Regions from separate parts of the Homo sapiens genome. Here regions 1, 2, 3 and 4 are each linked to region 5. The links are contacts of gene promoters, found by promoter capture Hi-C in human tissues and cell types (Jung and others, 2019). All regions are on one chromosome and are shown on one strand. Each heading gives the region's core, a stretch centred on a gene start or on the middle of the fragment in contact. The rest is flanking DNA. Distances are from core to core; before and after follow the strand shown. Region 1 overlaps LINC01622 (long intergenic non-protein coding RNA 1622). Region 2 overlaps LINC01622 (long intergenic non-protein coding RNA 1622). Region 3 has its middle 170 kb from the start of LINC01622. Region 4 has its middle 150 kb from the start of LINC01622. Region 5 holds the start of FOXF2 (forkhead box F2).

The links. The method cuts DNA at HindIII sites, captures the fragments that hold promoters and counts their contacts. A contact is called where the count stands out against the background at its distance.
Region 1: a fragment that was not itself captured here is called in contact with the fragment with the promoter of FOXF2 in region 5 in 1 of the 25 tissues and cell types used here (lymphoblastoid cells).
Region 2: a fragment that was not itself captured here is called in contact with the fragment with the promoter of FOXF2 in region 5 in 2 of the 25 tissues and cell types used here (lymphoblastoid cells and mesenchymal stem cells).
Region 3: a fragment that was not itself captured here is called in contact with the fragment with the promoter of FOXF2 in region 5 in 1 of the 25 tissues and cell types used here (mesenchymal stem cells).
Region 4: a contact is called between a fragment that was not itself captured here and the fragment with the promoter of FOXF2 in region 5, in 1 of the 25 tissues and cell types used here (hippocampus).

Annotation. Positions count from the first base shown.
Region 1 is chr6:977,057-979,756 of GRCh38, reverse strand. All of the region lies in intron 2 of LINC01622 (long intergenic non-protein coding RNA 1622), which reads left to right. Among named protein-coding and RNA genes, the nearest start is that of LINC01622, 120 kb to the left of the region's middle. The HindIII fragment of the contact is 6,048 bases long and covers 1-2,700 here.
Region 2 is chr6:994,173-996,872 of GRCh38, reverse strand. The region is part of intron 2 of LINC01622 (long intergenic non-protein coding RNA 1622); the gene reads left to right. Among named protein-coding and RNA genes, the nearest start is that of LINC01622, 110 kb to the left of the region's middle. RefSeq lists an enhancer at 1,155-1,674. The HindIII fragment of the contact is 4,216 bases long and covers 1-2,700 here.
Region 3 is chr6:933,678-936,377 of GRCh38, reverse strand. No RefSeq gene overlaps it. Among named protein-coding and RNA genes, the nearest start is that of LINC01622, 170 kb to the left of the region's middle. The HindIII fragment of the contact is 9,703 bases long and covers 1-2,700 here.
Region 4 is chr6:954,979-957,678 of GRCh38, reverse strand. No RefSeq gene overlaps it. Among named protein-coding and RNA genes, the nearest start is that of LINC01622, 150 kb to the left of the region's middle. The HindIII fragment of the contact is 4,750 bases long and covers 1-2,700 here.
Region 5 is chr6:1,388,277-1,390,976 of GRCh38, reverse strand. It overlaps FOXF2 (forkhead box F2), which reads right to left and starts at 1,401. Exons shown (of 2, transcript NM_001452.2): 1 at 1-1,401. The coding sequence starts at 1,029. It overlaps FOXF2-DT (FOXF2 divergent transcript), which reads left to right and starts at 1,516. Exons shown (of 3, transcript NR_187218.1): 1 at 1,516-1,958. MIR6720 (microRNA 6720) reads left to right here and starts at 566; the gene lies at 566-663. RefSeq lists an enhancer at 1-219. The HindIII fragment of the contact is 13,823 bases long and covers 1-2,700 here.

The DNA.
Region 1 (2,700 bases), core at 6-2,505, 410 kb after region 5:
TTTCAAAAAGGCCCCTATAAAATTGTATTCCATTTAGATGTGTAACTTGGTCAGGATTCCTTTTACTCTTACCATAAAAGCAGGAACTGTGCTAAGCAAATCAGATGCATTGTTTCTTTTTATACCCATAAGAAATTTTGAAGATAAGCACCATAATAGGGTTGTAGGAAAAAATGGTGGATAGGAGACAGAACTAATGTGCAGCTCCCACTTAGTTGAACAGAACAGTGTTTGGAGACTCACATTGTGAACTTTTGCTCCAAGAACCACCACAGGAACATACCAGGAAAACCAAAAGAATTCAAAGAGCCTTTGAAAAAAGTGGCTTGCCATTGCAAACACTGTGAGACAGTCGAAAAACTGTGAGTTCCCTAAGAGTGAGAGGGGGAAAAGTTGGCCTCTGAACTTACTTCCCCAATGGAGAACCTGAAATTCCAGATCATGGGGAAAGATTTAACCTTACTTAGAGCTGAAATTGATTTAGGGAGCCCAGCAAAATATAGCAGTAGAAGAAGCGGTGGGAAGATCAGCAGTAGGCACTCCTGATCTCCAGCTTGAGCCAAGGGAAGCCCTTCCTGGCCTTACCTCTTTGCAGACCTTCCCCAGCACCAGCCTGGAGCCCAGTAGCCCCCACTAGATGGCTAGATCCAGAGGACAATAACAGTTGCTGCAGTCTGGCTCTTAGGAAGCCCTGTCCCTAGAGGAAGGGGGAGAGCACCACATCAAGGGATCACCCCATGGGACAAAATAAACTGAAAAGCAGCCGTTGAGTTTCAGATCATTCCACTGAAAGTCTACTCAATTGAAACGGAACCAGAAAACTAATTATGATAATATGACAAAACAAGGTTCTGTAACACCCCCAGAAGATCACATTAGCTCTCCAGCAATGAACCCAAACCAAGAAGAAATTTCCAAATTGCCAGGAAAAGAATTCAGAAGGTTGATTATTAAGCTACTCCAGGAAGCACCAGGGAAAGGTGAAAAGCAACTTAAAGAAAATTAAAAAGCAATACCAGATATGGAAGAAAAAGTATCCAGAGAAATAGATATCATAAGGAAAAGACAATCATAACTTCTGGACATGAAAGACACACTTAGAGAAATGCAAAATACACTGAAAAGATTCAACAATAGAATCAAAGGAGTAGAAGAAAGAACTTCAAAGCTTGCAGACATGGCTTTTGAACTAACCCAATCTGACAAAGAAAAAGAAAAAAAATTTAATGAAAAAAGCCTCTAAGAAATTTGGGATTATGTGAAATGAACAAACATTTAACTGGTGTTCCTGAGGAAGAAGAGAAATCTAAAAGTTTGGAAAACTTACTTGAGGTAATAATCAAGGAAAATTTCCCTGGTCTTGCTAGAATTCTGGACGTACAAATACAAGCAGCTCAAAGAACACCCAGGAAATTCATCGCAAAAAGATCATCACCTAGACACATAGTAATCAGGTTATCTAAAGTCAAGACAAAGGAAAGAATATTAAGAGCTGTGAGGCAAAAGCATCAGGTAAACTATAAAGGAAAACCTATCAGATTAACAGCAGATTTCTCAGCAGAAACTGTGCAAGCCAGAAGGGATTGGGATCCTATCTTTAGCTTCCTTAAACAAAATAATTATCAGCCAAGAATTTTGTATCCAGTAAAACTAAGCTTCATAAATGAAGGAGAGGTTTTCAGACAAACAAATGCTGAGAGAATTCACCACAAACAAGTCAGCACTACAAGAAATGCTTAAAAGGAATCCTAAATCTTGAAACAAAACTGCAAAATACACCAAAATAGAACCTTCTTAAAACATAAATCTCACAGGACCTATAATATAATAACACAATGAAAAAGAAGCAAGGTACTCAGGCAACAACTAGCATGATGAATGGAACAGTACCTCACATCTCAATACTAGCATTGAATGTAAATGGTCTAAGAGCTCCACTTAAAAGATACAGAATGGCAGAATGGATAACAATCCACCAACCAAGTATCTACTGTCTTCAAGAGGCTCACCTAACACATAGGGACTCACATAAACTTAAGGTAAAGGAGTGCAAAAAGATAATCCATGCAAATGGACACCAAAAGCAAGCAGGAGTAGCTCTTCTTACATCAGACAAAAAGCACTTTAAGGCAACAACAGTTAAAAAAAAAAAGATAAAGAGGGATATTATATAATGATAAAAAGATTAGTCCAATAGGAAAATATCACAATCTTAAATATATATGCACCTAACACTGGAGCTCTACTAGACCTAAGAAATGAGATAGCAACACAATAATAGTGGGGGACTTCAACACTCCACTGACAGCTCTAGACAGGTCATCAAGACAGAAAGTCAACAAAGAAACAATGGACTTAAACTACACCCTAAAACAAATGGACTTAACAAATATTTACAGAACATTCTACCCAACAACTGCAGAACATACATTCTTTTTATCATCACTTGGAACATTCTCCAAGATAGACCATATGATAGGCCACAAAACAAGCCTCAACTGGGCATGGTGGCTCATGCCTGTAGTCCCAGCACTTTGGGAGGCTGAGGCAGGTGGATCACGAGGTCAGCAGATCGAGACCATCCTGGCTAACATGGTGAAACCCTGTCTCTACTAAAAATACAAAAAATTGGCTGGGTGTGATGGCAGGCACCTGTAGTTCCAGCTACTTGGGAGGCTGAAGCAGGAGAATGGCGTGAAC
Region 2 (2,700 bases), core at 137-2,636, 390 kb after region 5:
AGTGGCCTCCAGGCCATAGCAGTGTGACCTTGGTTTGTCTGCAGCATCCATCCAGGCACGTGGGAAATGTTGTTTTCAGGGACACTGAAATGTGGAATTTATTCATCCCCTCAGCAAGAATTTGCTGAGCCGCTGCCCTGTGCCAGGCAGTGCCACCTGCTCTCAGCTCACACCTGGCATTCTGACAGAGGGAGGCAGACAGCAATGGCCCAGAGTGTCAGAGGGGGTTAGTGCCGCAGACCAGGAGTGAGCGGCGTCGGGAGGGAGTGCAAGATTCCAGCAGGCGGTATGACAAAGCACAGCACACAAGATGAAATGGATTGGGTGCACCTGCTCACAATGGGGGACTAGGGAGTGTCTCAAAGTTATAGTTTCATTTTCAAGAATGTTCTGATACCTCTGTTACTGTACCTAGATTTGTTTTGAGCCTACGTTTCTTTGAGGTAATTGAGGGGTGTCTGATGGAGAATATATGATGAATAGGCACAGAAAGGAATGCGCACCCACCACCAGACTCCCAGCACTGCCTGTGTAAAGGAGAGATCAATAGGCCAGGAGAACCAGATCAAAGAAAAAGAAAAATGGGAAAAGTTTATTCAGCCACCTGTCTGCATCTCCACTATGGGCCTTGTCCTCATGCCCATGGCTTCACTTTCTTTTTAGTAACAACTCTACTGAGAGATAATTCACATACCACACTCTTCACCCATTTAAAGTGTAGACTTCAGTGGTTTTTAGTACATTCCCAGAGTTGTGCAACCTTCCCCACAATCAATTTGAGAACATTTAAACCACCCCTAAAAGAAACCCCGTCCCTATAAGCAGTACCTCCCCACTTTCCCCAGGCCCCAGCGCCTGGCAACCACTAACCTACTTTCTGTCTGTAAGGATTTGCCTTTTCTGCACATTTCATATCAATGCAGCCATACCATGTGGTCTTTTGTGGCTGGTTTCTTTCCCGTAATGTCTTCCAGGTCCACCATATCATAGCATGTGTCACGCTACCTGATAATGTGTGATTCTTCATGCCTGAATCATATTCCGTCAGCTGTGATCTATCACAATGTGCCTACCCAGTGTCAGCTGGTGGATTGCCGGCCTCATTTAATTTCCCACCTGTACGCCTCTGTATGCCCAGCTCTGCTGCTCACTCAGCCCTCTGCGCTGTTCTTGGATTCCCACACCCAGAAGCTGGCAGGAAGCAGTTGAGGATGGAGAGGGAAGGAGGCAGGGGCTGGGGGTCGCAGACAGCACAGCAGTGAGATCATGTGTGTCCTGGGACTCTTCCTTCCTGGCCTCAGCTCTTTTTCCCTCACCAGTCCTATACCTGAAAACCACCCGTCCTCCTCCTCCTCCCTGGCTGCCAGAGTTTTGGGAGCAAATCCTGTAACCGTGCAGATGCCCTCCCTGAGGTGTGTCCCTGCAGCCTGCCTTCATTCTCCTTGTGGTCAGGGAGAGGTGGCTCCCAGCTCCTCCCAAGCCTTCACTGCAGTTCCAGAGCTTCCATCTGGACCCTCCCCTCTCATAGTTTCTGCCCACCCTCAGCCACACGGCACTAGAGCATGAGCTTCTCGGGGGCAGGACCAGACCTTATGCATCTTGACACTCCATGGTGCCTAACACGTGTTCTTACCATGGGGGTGTGGTCCTGGGACACGCAGCCCGGCCTCCCTGAGATCTGAAGGACTGAGGGCTTCATGCCCCGCTGCTGTGAGTGCTGCCAGCACCATCCCCTGCCTGCCCTCTCTCTAGACATTGCCCTCTGCTGAAGGGACCCACCCTGACCATGGTCCCTGGAGCAGCCTCAGTTGAGTGATGTACTTGTGATAAGAGGGCCCTGCCCCTCTCACCCCGATTCCGCACAACCTTAAAGGGCTGCTCCCACTCCAGAGATCTTCCTGTGGGGTGGCTGAGGCTTTTCTTTTGACCACGTGGAAGCCCAGCCTGTCCCTCTGCCCATCTGCCGCTTTCCCTCCCCACAGGTGTTGGTCCTGAGAGCATTCCCAAATAAATTTCCTGAACCATCATCACCATAGCAAAGCAGCTTCCTGGGCAACCTCACCTACAACAGCCATTTAAGAATAGGAATTTGAAAGACATTGAGTGAAAACAATTTATAATTCAGAAAGGAAAGCTTGCCTTATAAATAAAACTATTCATTATTACTTAGCTAAAATAGTCGTAGTTACTTTACAAATGTTTACGGCTCCCCTGGCTTGGAGATCAATCTAATCTTTTTTTTTTTTCTTAATGTTCAGTCTCTTTATGTCTATGGATATGTAAATATTTAATTAAAACATCTTTGTATAAAATAAATGGTGGTATAAGGAAATGGAAAAAAACCCTTACCTGCAGAGAAAATTTGTGAAATATATTTTTCACACAGAAGGGTAAATAGAATATCCATGTTCCATTCAAATAAAAGTGAAACAAATGCCCATCTATCTTCCAAACAGCTGAAGAAATAGAATATCCCCCACTATAGATAGAAGCTGTGTTGTGCCCAGTTAACTGCTATCCTGAATGGCCAGCTTGCTAGAGGATAGATCAGATAGATAGATAGATAGACAGACAGACAGACAGACAGACAGACAGACAGATAGATAGATAGATATACATACATACATACATACACACATACATATATAGATGATGGATTGGTAGATGGTTGATACATGTTAGATAGATAGATAGATATAT
Region 3 (2,700 bases), core at 155-2,654, 450 kb after region 5:
GATGATGGGCCAGTGCAGGATCCTTGATCATATCAGATGTCCCCCTCTGGTGGGGAGTTGATAATGGGGGAAGTTGTGCCTGTGCGGGGGCCGGGAGGGGCTGGGAATTCTCTTTTCCTTCCTCTCAATTTTGCTGTGAACCCAAACCTGCTCTAAAAAAAAATCAAGCCTATTAATAAAACACATAACATGGTAATACTATAAACATATTTAATTGGCTAACAAGGATCTAATGTAATACTGGGCAATTCCTATCTCTATGTGAATTCATCATGGCTGCCTAGAATGGATCGGAGTTTTGGAGAAGCGAGGAGACAATTTACGAATTGTGAGCGTGAATCTCTGTGGCAGACTGGACGGCATGGGGTGCATGGGTAGCAGAAGGGCCCTTGGGGCAGCAGAGGAGAGAACGGCCGACAGGAAGGTGTAGACAGACGAACACAACTCTGGACTGGCCATCAGAGACATTGGAAACAGATCTCCTCTTCCGAGGAGAACTCCCAAGACCTGGAATTTGGGCTGGAAGTATCAGTCCCCTGGTTCAGGTTAAATAGAACAGCTCTGGGGCCACACAACTGAACCACACGGACTGGGGTCACACAGAAGGCGTGGGGAAGCCAGGGGCTGCCCTGGGGCTGCTGGGGTGTGTACACAGTGTCCATTGCCTCAGCCTCCAGCTCTGATATCAGAGCCTGGGGAACGAGTTTCCTCCCTAACCCTGGTGCAGATTTGGAGAAGATTGCAGGTGTGGCTCTGGCCAGGATGGAACGCTCTTTCTCATGCCCTCCTCTCCCAACACGTACCTTAGCCTCCCACCCTGGGGTCATGTGCACAGTGATTACCAGCCAGTTGTGCCCCAGCTCATGGGGTTCTGTGTGCCAATCACTGTGGCATGTTTCATGGCCTCTTTTCTTGTCTCTGGATTCGGACACAAGTCCCTGGAGAGTGGAGTCTGCAGCCCAGCAGTGCCCGGCGGGTAAACAATTACTGTGAGTGGATGAATGCACGAGCCAATCTCCTAGACACAGCCTCTCCCACATCCCGTTGCTCACGCGCTCTCCAAAGCTCAGTCTGGCCGCCTGATTCTAGCGACCCTGTCCTCCCTCCTTCCTGCTTAGCTCTTCCACAGGTCATCCTCCAAATTTCAGCCACACGCAGCATCTGTGGGGTGGAATTCTGCTCACAGCCAGCATCCTTGCTTACAGAAACCTTTCTCTGGCTCCCCTGGAAACCTCTCTCCAAGTTCTCATCCTTTCAGGCCTCTTTCATGCTTTCTCCTCATGCTTCCTGTAGAGGTCAAACTCCTCTTCACCATCATATCTTTTTGTGACTCCAGATAAAACTTACACTCTCCCCTTTGCTCTGGCAGATTCCTGCAGGGCTTTGGCAGTGGACTGACAGACACCAGGTGACCTGCCTCTCCAGGAGGATGGAGCAGAAGCCCTGCCAGTGTCCCCTGAAGGGCAGGGCTGGGGACCGCATGAGGACAAGGCTGGAGAGTATCCAGAGCCTTGTGGGCAGTCTCTCCAGCCTCCATGCAGCCACTGCGCACACACCCACAACAAAGAGGCATGTGCCATTCATCCATTTAGCCTGAGCCGGGTTCAAGGAGCTTCTGCTCAGGATAATCATGTACAGTTGCACAGTTCTTACACTGAACAAAGACAGCAGGCTGAAATCCATTCTACACTGTACTCTGTGTGCCCTGGCAAAGGGATGCTTTTCTAAATCTGGACAGACAGGACTCATTTTCCTAATTTGCACACAGCTACCTTGTAGGGTAGTAAACCAGCTCTCCCCACCTCACAACTTCTCTCTTGTGTTACTGCTGCATGCAGGGCTTTGATGACAAGTCACACAGGTGTTCTGTGTTTACCAGCATCCCCCAAACCTTGCACTACCAATCCCCCAATGCAGAAGCACAGGAGACAGAGTTGAGCCTCTATTTCCTACACTTTGCCTGTGCGACAGCCTTACAAGTTGTGGAGAACATTGCACATGCTGAACCTTTAACGTGGACGATGAATCCTGTGAAGTTAGGGACCCCAGCTGTTCTGTTCCCCACCTTCCTAGCAAAGCCCCCAGCACACAGACGGGGCTGCAGCAACGTCCATTGAATAGCTCAGACATCCACTTGTCTGCAGGAGGCTCTGCTCCCCCATCCTTCCCCCAGGCCTGCCTGGTCCCTTGGGCTGGCACTTATGCGTCCCACAGCATTTGGTTCTTGATCTTTTCCTTGGTGAAACCTTCCTTGCAACTCCTGTACAAAGCTCTTTGGGATCGGACCCATATGCCATGCCCATGATGGCTGCCAACTGTGGGTCCCCTTTCTATCCTGTTCAGGCGTCAAGGACAGGGGCAATGGCGTCTTCATTTTGTGAGTCCAATGCCCAGTGCACTGTTTAGACTGCGGAGAAATGGGTCTTCAGTGATTAAATAAGAGTCCCTAAGATTTTGCTTCTGAGAATCTTTCACATCTTTAATTAATAACAATAATAATACTTAGTTACTGCGTTACATATTTTCCTTATCTTGAATTGAGAAACATTTCAAACATACAGAAAAGCAGAGTAATACAATAACAACTACCACCTTCTACTGAGGCCAGACAAAAGCTAATATTTACTACGTTGATGCAGGCTTTTTTTTTTTTTTTTTTTTTTTTTCAAAATAAAGCACCATGAATACAGGTAACTACAG
Region 4 (2,700 bases), core at 200-2,699, 430 kb after region 5:
GGGGGCAGGTTAAATGCAGCAGTGACTAAAGAACTGCACCTGCCCTCCTTCCACTTTCTTTCTTCGATTGATTTGAAAAATACAGCAGTGGATTTGTCTTAAGAAAGGTGTGCAGTTTATTGACACTTACAATTATGTATTCCCTTGGAGGAAGACATGAAACCAGTTTTCAGGCAGGGTTTGGTTAGGAAGATACATGTCACCAACACACGGGATCTTCTCGTGCCAACTGCTTCGTATTTGTAAAACTAACAAATTGAGTCAGTGTCTACTATAATGAGATGCTGTTCCTGCTCTATGCGGTATAGGGAAGTAGGCAAAGCATTCGTGCAAGAGTCTTGCAGCCTGCATTCGATTCTTGGCTGTGCCACCAACTAGGTGTGTGACTTTGGATAAATCACCTGACCCTTCTAAGCCTCTTAGAGCTGTGAGCTGGGTGTAGCAACAGAACCAACTGTTCTTGGGAAAACTTAGAAAAGGTTTATTACAATGTCAGACATATAACTAACAAGCATCTTTTTGTGAGCTATTTTCTGGCAATTGAAGGCTTCAACTTAATTTTTTTCTAAATGTCTGAATGAATCTGTAGCTTGCCAAAATGATAGCAATACCTGTCATTTTTGAGTTCCTATTGCTTGAGTTCCTTAGAAAGTTTAGGCAACCCATCTAAGGTCTCACGCCTGGTTCATGGTGCAGCCAGGATTTGCACACACACATTGAGCACTCTACGTCTATTTAATATGGTAACAAGCCCACAGATGGAAACATGACCCTATGGTGGTGCTGGGAAGAGACAGCCCAGCTGAGGCTGGAGGCAGTCCCTCTTCACAACACTGACTCTTCCACCAAGAAAGACCACTGGCTATGGCACAGAGGGGCATGAGCTAAACACCAGCCTTGGCCACCATTTTACCCTGCTCATGAGGGCTAAACCTTGCTGTATTTTGATTATCTTTTTTTTTTAGACAGAGTATCGCTCTGTCACCAGGCTGGAGTGCAGTGATGTGATCTCGGCTCACTGCAACCTCCACATCTCGGGTTCAAGCGATTCTCCTGCCTCGGTCTTCCGAGTAGCTGGGACTACAGGCGTGCACCACCAGGTCCAGCTAATGTTTGTATTTTTAGTAGAGACAGGGTTTCACCATATTGGCCAGGATGGTCTCGATCTCTTGACCTCATGATCTGCCCACCTCTGCCTCCCACAGTGCTAGGATTACAGGCGTGAGCCACCGTGCCCAGCCTTGATTATCTTTTTGATAAAATGATCCAGAAAGTTTTCTCCCTGAGGACTTTTTGGTGGAGAAGCCTTAGTGCACACACAGAAACACCTCGACTATCTGTCAACTTCACACAGTGACTGCCGGATGGAGTAATAGGTGCTCCTCTTCCTCAAAAAGATGAATTTTATTGGCCTAGAGACAAAAACAAAGCTATTAACCTGAGAAAGGTAAAAATCGTGGGCAGGTAGAAAAGTCTTCACAAAGTCAGACTTCTTCATTTCTATCTACTTGTTTAAAATTGTGCTAAAGGCTAAAACATATTCCTGGAAAAGACCAAGCAAACATAGCTGGAGACCAGGTAAACCCAGTTCTAAAATTCCAACCTATTTGCCTATTATAAATGGAAGCCTTTTCAGGAGGACCTTAAGAAAAGGCAAGCTCCAGATATGTTCAGTGGGTGCAGACCTAGACAGGGCTCCTCAGGCCTGAGCTTCAGAAGCTGTGAGTTGGGTTACTAAAAGCGCCCTTACAAGGAAACCCCTAGTCCTTCCCAGGTGAGTATGCCTTCCAAGGCACCCCAGGGGCAGCTCCTTAATGTCCAGGAGTTTCTTCCTTGCCCAGCTCCAGTGCTCAGCCCAGAGCCACACTCCCCCCAGAGCCCCCTGGCCCTGTGTTGGCTTCCTGTTGCCTCTGCAGAAAATCACTACAGACCAGGCGGCTTCAGGCATCATAGATCTACTGCCCAACAGTCCTGGAGGCAGGATGTCCAAAATGGGTCTGACTGGCTTAAGACCCAGGTGTAGGCATAGCTGGCTCATGCTGGACACTCCTCTGGAGGATCATTGCCCCTGCCTTTCCCGGACTCCAGGGCTGCCCACACTCCTTGGACACACTGTCCTGTCACCTGCTTCAGTCGGCTTTCTCTGTCACGTCTCCTTCTCTCTCTGGCCTTCCTGCCTTCCTCTCACAAGGACCCTGTAATTACATGGGCCCCACCCAGATAATCCAAGATCACCCCCCACCTCAGTACATTTAACTAAATCACATCTGCAAAGTCTCCTTTGCCTCGTAAAGGGACATAGCCACAGATTCCAGGGAGTAGGATGCGGGCACCCCGGGGGCCATTCCACAGCCCACCACATAGCCCAAAGGGATGCACCAAGCAGGAACTAAAGCAGACGCTGTCCAGGCGGCTTAAAGAAGGGAGGGCTTTAAGGAGCGGACCTTCCCACTGCTGGGGGGCTGCCTTTCTACAGCACCATGAGCACCATGAGGCTGTTGGTTTTATCCACTGAGAATGAAATAAACTACTGAGAGAAAGCTTTTATCTCACTAATAGATCTGAAGTCATGCCCTTTAAAAAATGAGAATAAGAGATAAATGTATAATAATAAACTATGTTGCAATTTCCAATAATTAAATGCATTCCTTTTTTATATTCATATATTATGGGGTTTTCCATTAGGGCATGTTGTTGACG
Region 5 (2,700 bases), core at 152-2,651:
AGGCGAGCTCCAGTGCGCCGCAGGGCTCGTGTAGGGCGAGTGGCATTCGATGGCGCTCGCCATGGCCGGGGACGAGGGTACCGGGCTGCTGCTGCTGTCCGGCCCGTAGTCGCCGCCGCCGCCGCCCCCGGCCGCACCGACGCCCCCGGGTCCCGCGGGCACCGGGCAGCTGGCCATGTAGGTGGAACCCGGGTTGGGCGACATGTGCGGGACGTGGTGGTGGTGGTGGTGGTGAGGGTGCGCGTGGCTGGGGGCGCCCGCGCCGGCGTCGTAGCCCGCGGGCATCATGTCGAGGCCGCCGTAGCCGCCCTGGCTGTGGCAGCCGAGCGGCGCCGACGGGGGCGCCTGGAAGTCGAAGCCCTGGGGCAGCAGCGACGCCCCGAAGCCCAAGCCGCTCACCACGCGGTGGTACATGGGCTTGAGCGCCTGGCACTTCCGCCTGAAGCCGCGCGGCCGGCGGCGGAACGAGCCCTCCTCGAACATGAACTCGCTGGCCGGGTCGATGGTCCAGTAGTGGCCCTTGCCGGGCCGCCCGAGGCCCTTAGGCAGCTTGATGAAGCACTCGTTGAGCGAGAGATTGTGGCGCACCGAGTTCTTCCAGCCCTGGTAGGCGCCGCGGAAGAAGGGGAAGCGCGCCTGCAGGAACTGGTAGATCTCGCTGAGCGTCAGGCGCTTGCTGGGCGAGCTCTGGATGGCCATGACGATGAGCGCGATGTACGAGTAGGGCGGCTTCTCGGGCCGCCGCAGCCCCGAGCTCGCCTTCTTGGCGCCCCCGCTCCCGGCGCCCGCGCCGCCGCCGCCCGCGCTCTTGCAGGCAGCCGAGGGGGCGCTGGCCGAATTGGAGGAGGACGAGGACGAGGCGCAGGAGGCGGAGGACGACGACGAGGAGGAGGAGGTGGTCTCCGGGGCGGCGGCGGCGGCGGCGGCGGCGGCGGGCGGCGGGCTCATCAGGGCGGCCTGGAGCGCGCCGGGGACCGGGCTGCACGCGCGGCGGAGCGGGGCCGGCGGCGGCCCGCCCTCGGTGGTCATCTGGGACCCGGGAGCGAGGCCGGGCCGCGAGGGCGGGCCCCGGGCGGGAAGCGGAGGCGCCGGAGCGGGGTCGGCCCAGAAGCCCTGCGAGCGCCCTAGCCCGCCGCCCGGGCTGCAGCCGTGGCCACTCCGGGCCAGCGCTTCGGCGTCGCCTCCCTCAGCTCCTCTGGGGCTTCTGGCGGCGGCGGCGGCGGCGGGCGGGAGGCAACGCCCGGCGCATCCCTCCCCGAGCCGCGGGCCCTGCCTTGCGCAACGGCCTCCCAGGCCGCGGGGCCGAGCGGCCGGCGCCGGGCGACTGCGCCCGCGAGTGGGACCGCGGCCTGGACCCCGGGGACGAGCCCGACGTCTCCCTTCAGGAGCGCTCCTCGCTCTGTCTCTCGGACTTCCTCCCTCCCTCGCCCTCCCCGGCCGCCCTCCTCGCTCCCTCCCTCCCTCCCTCCCCCCCCACCCCGCCCTGCCCCCTCCTCGCTCCGCGCCGCCGCGCTCACTCCTCCCCCTCCCGACCTGGCGGCCGCCTCCCTCTCTTATCTCGCTCCCCGCTCTCCAGGGTCTCCTCGCTCTTCATTCCTCTCGCGGCCTCCTCCCCTTTCCCTCACTCACCCTCTTTCCAATTGAGGGATCACAGACTCACTCCGGTTCTGCCAGGGGGACGACCCCCACCCCTCGCAAAACTCGACCACCTCTGACTTCATGAAATATTCTTTCTGTTTGCCCCCCGCAGCAAGCCCCGCGTCCCATCCCAGGACCCAGCCCCGCCCCTCCGCGCCCCCTTCCTCCTCCTGGCCCGCCGGGCCGAGTGGTGCTGCTGCGGGTGCGGCTGCTCGGAGCCTCCCTGGCCGCCCTCCCCAGGGCCGATACTGACTCCATCTGTCAACTTCGTTTAGACTTTGCCGCCCTCAGCCACACGCCGGGGTGCCAGACGCCCAAAGGTAACGTGCCAATCCTCTCTCTTTCTGGCAGGGCCTGCAGGCTCCCCGACAATTGTTAGGGCGACTGGGGGCCGCCGCAGGGTTGCGGGCCGCTGGCGATCGTGGACGTTTTCGGAACTTTGAGCAGAGGGATTTACACTGAGAAACCTAGGCCAAGTTTCAAAGACTCTGGAAACCTGGATCTCATGGGACTTAGGGTTGCATTTGCTTCCACTTCTTCCCCCCACCCCCGCACCCCAGTTAGTGTTCTGTAAGAAAAAAGTGCAAAAGAAAAAGGAAGGAAGGAAGAAAAGAAAGAAAGAGAAAGAAAAAGAAAGACCCTGAGATAAGCGAGATGGCTATATTTATAGTCAGTCCTGAAGGGGTGTGCAGCTGTCACTAGGTTTACATCCTCCGTCTTAACATTGCCCACCCAAAACTGTGCCAGGTCTCAGCTAACTCCTGTCCGAGAACACTTCTCCCCAGTTGTGGCTAATTCCTCCCTAAGTAAGAGTCAGGCTCTGAGAGAGATGTGCCCTCGGGAGCAATCACTTCCAATGAGACCCGACAGTTAGTTATTGGATTACACGTGCAGGGAAATGTAGTCCGACCAGGGATAGGAGCTGGGAGAGGGAGGAGGAGAGCAGGAGGCCGGAGCTGGCGGGGCCTCCCAAGGGCTGAAGGGGGAGGCCCAGAAAGAAGGTGCTGCAGACCAGCGGACCAAACAGGAGGTAGAGCTGGGCACCCCGCTGCGTCTAGGCTG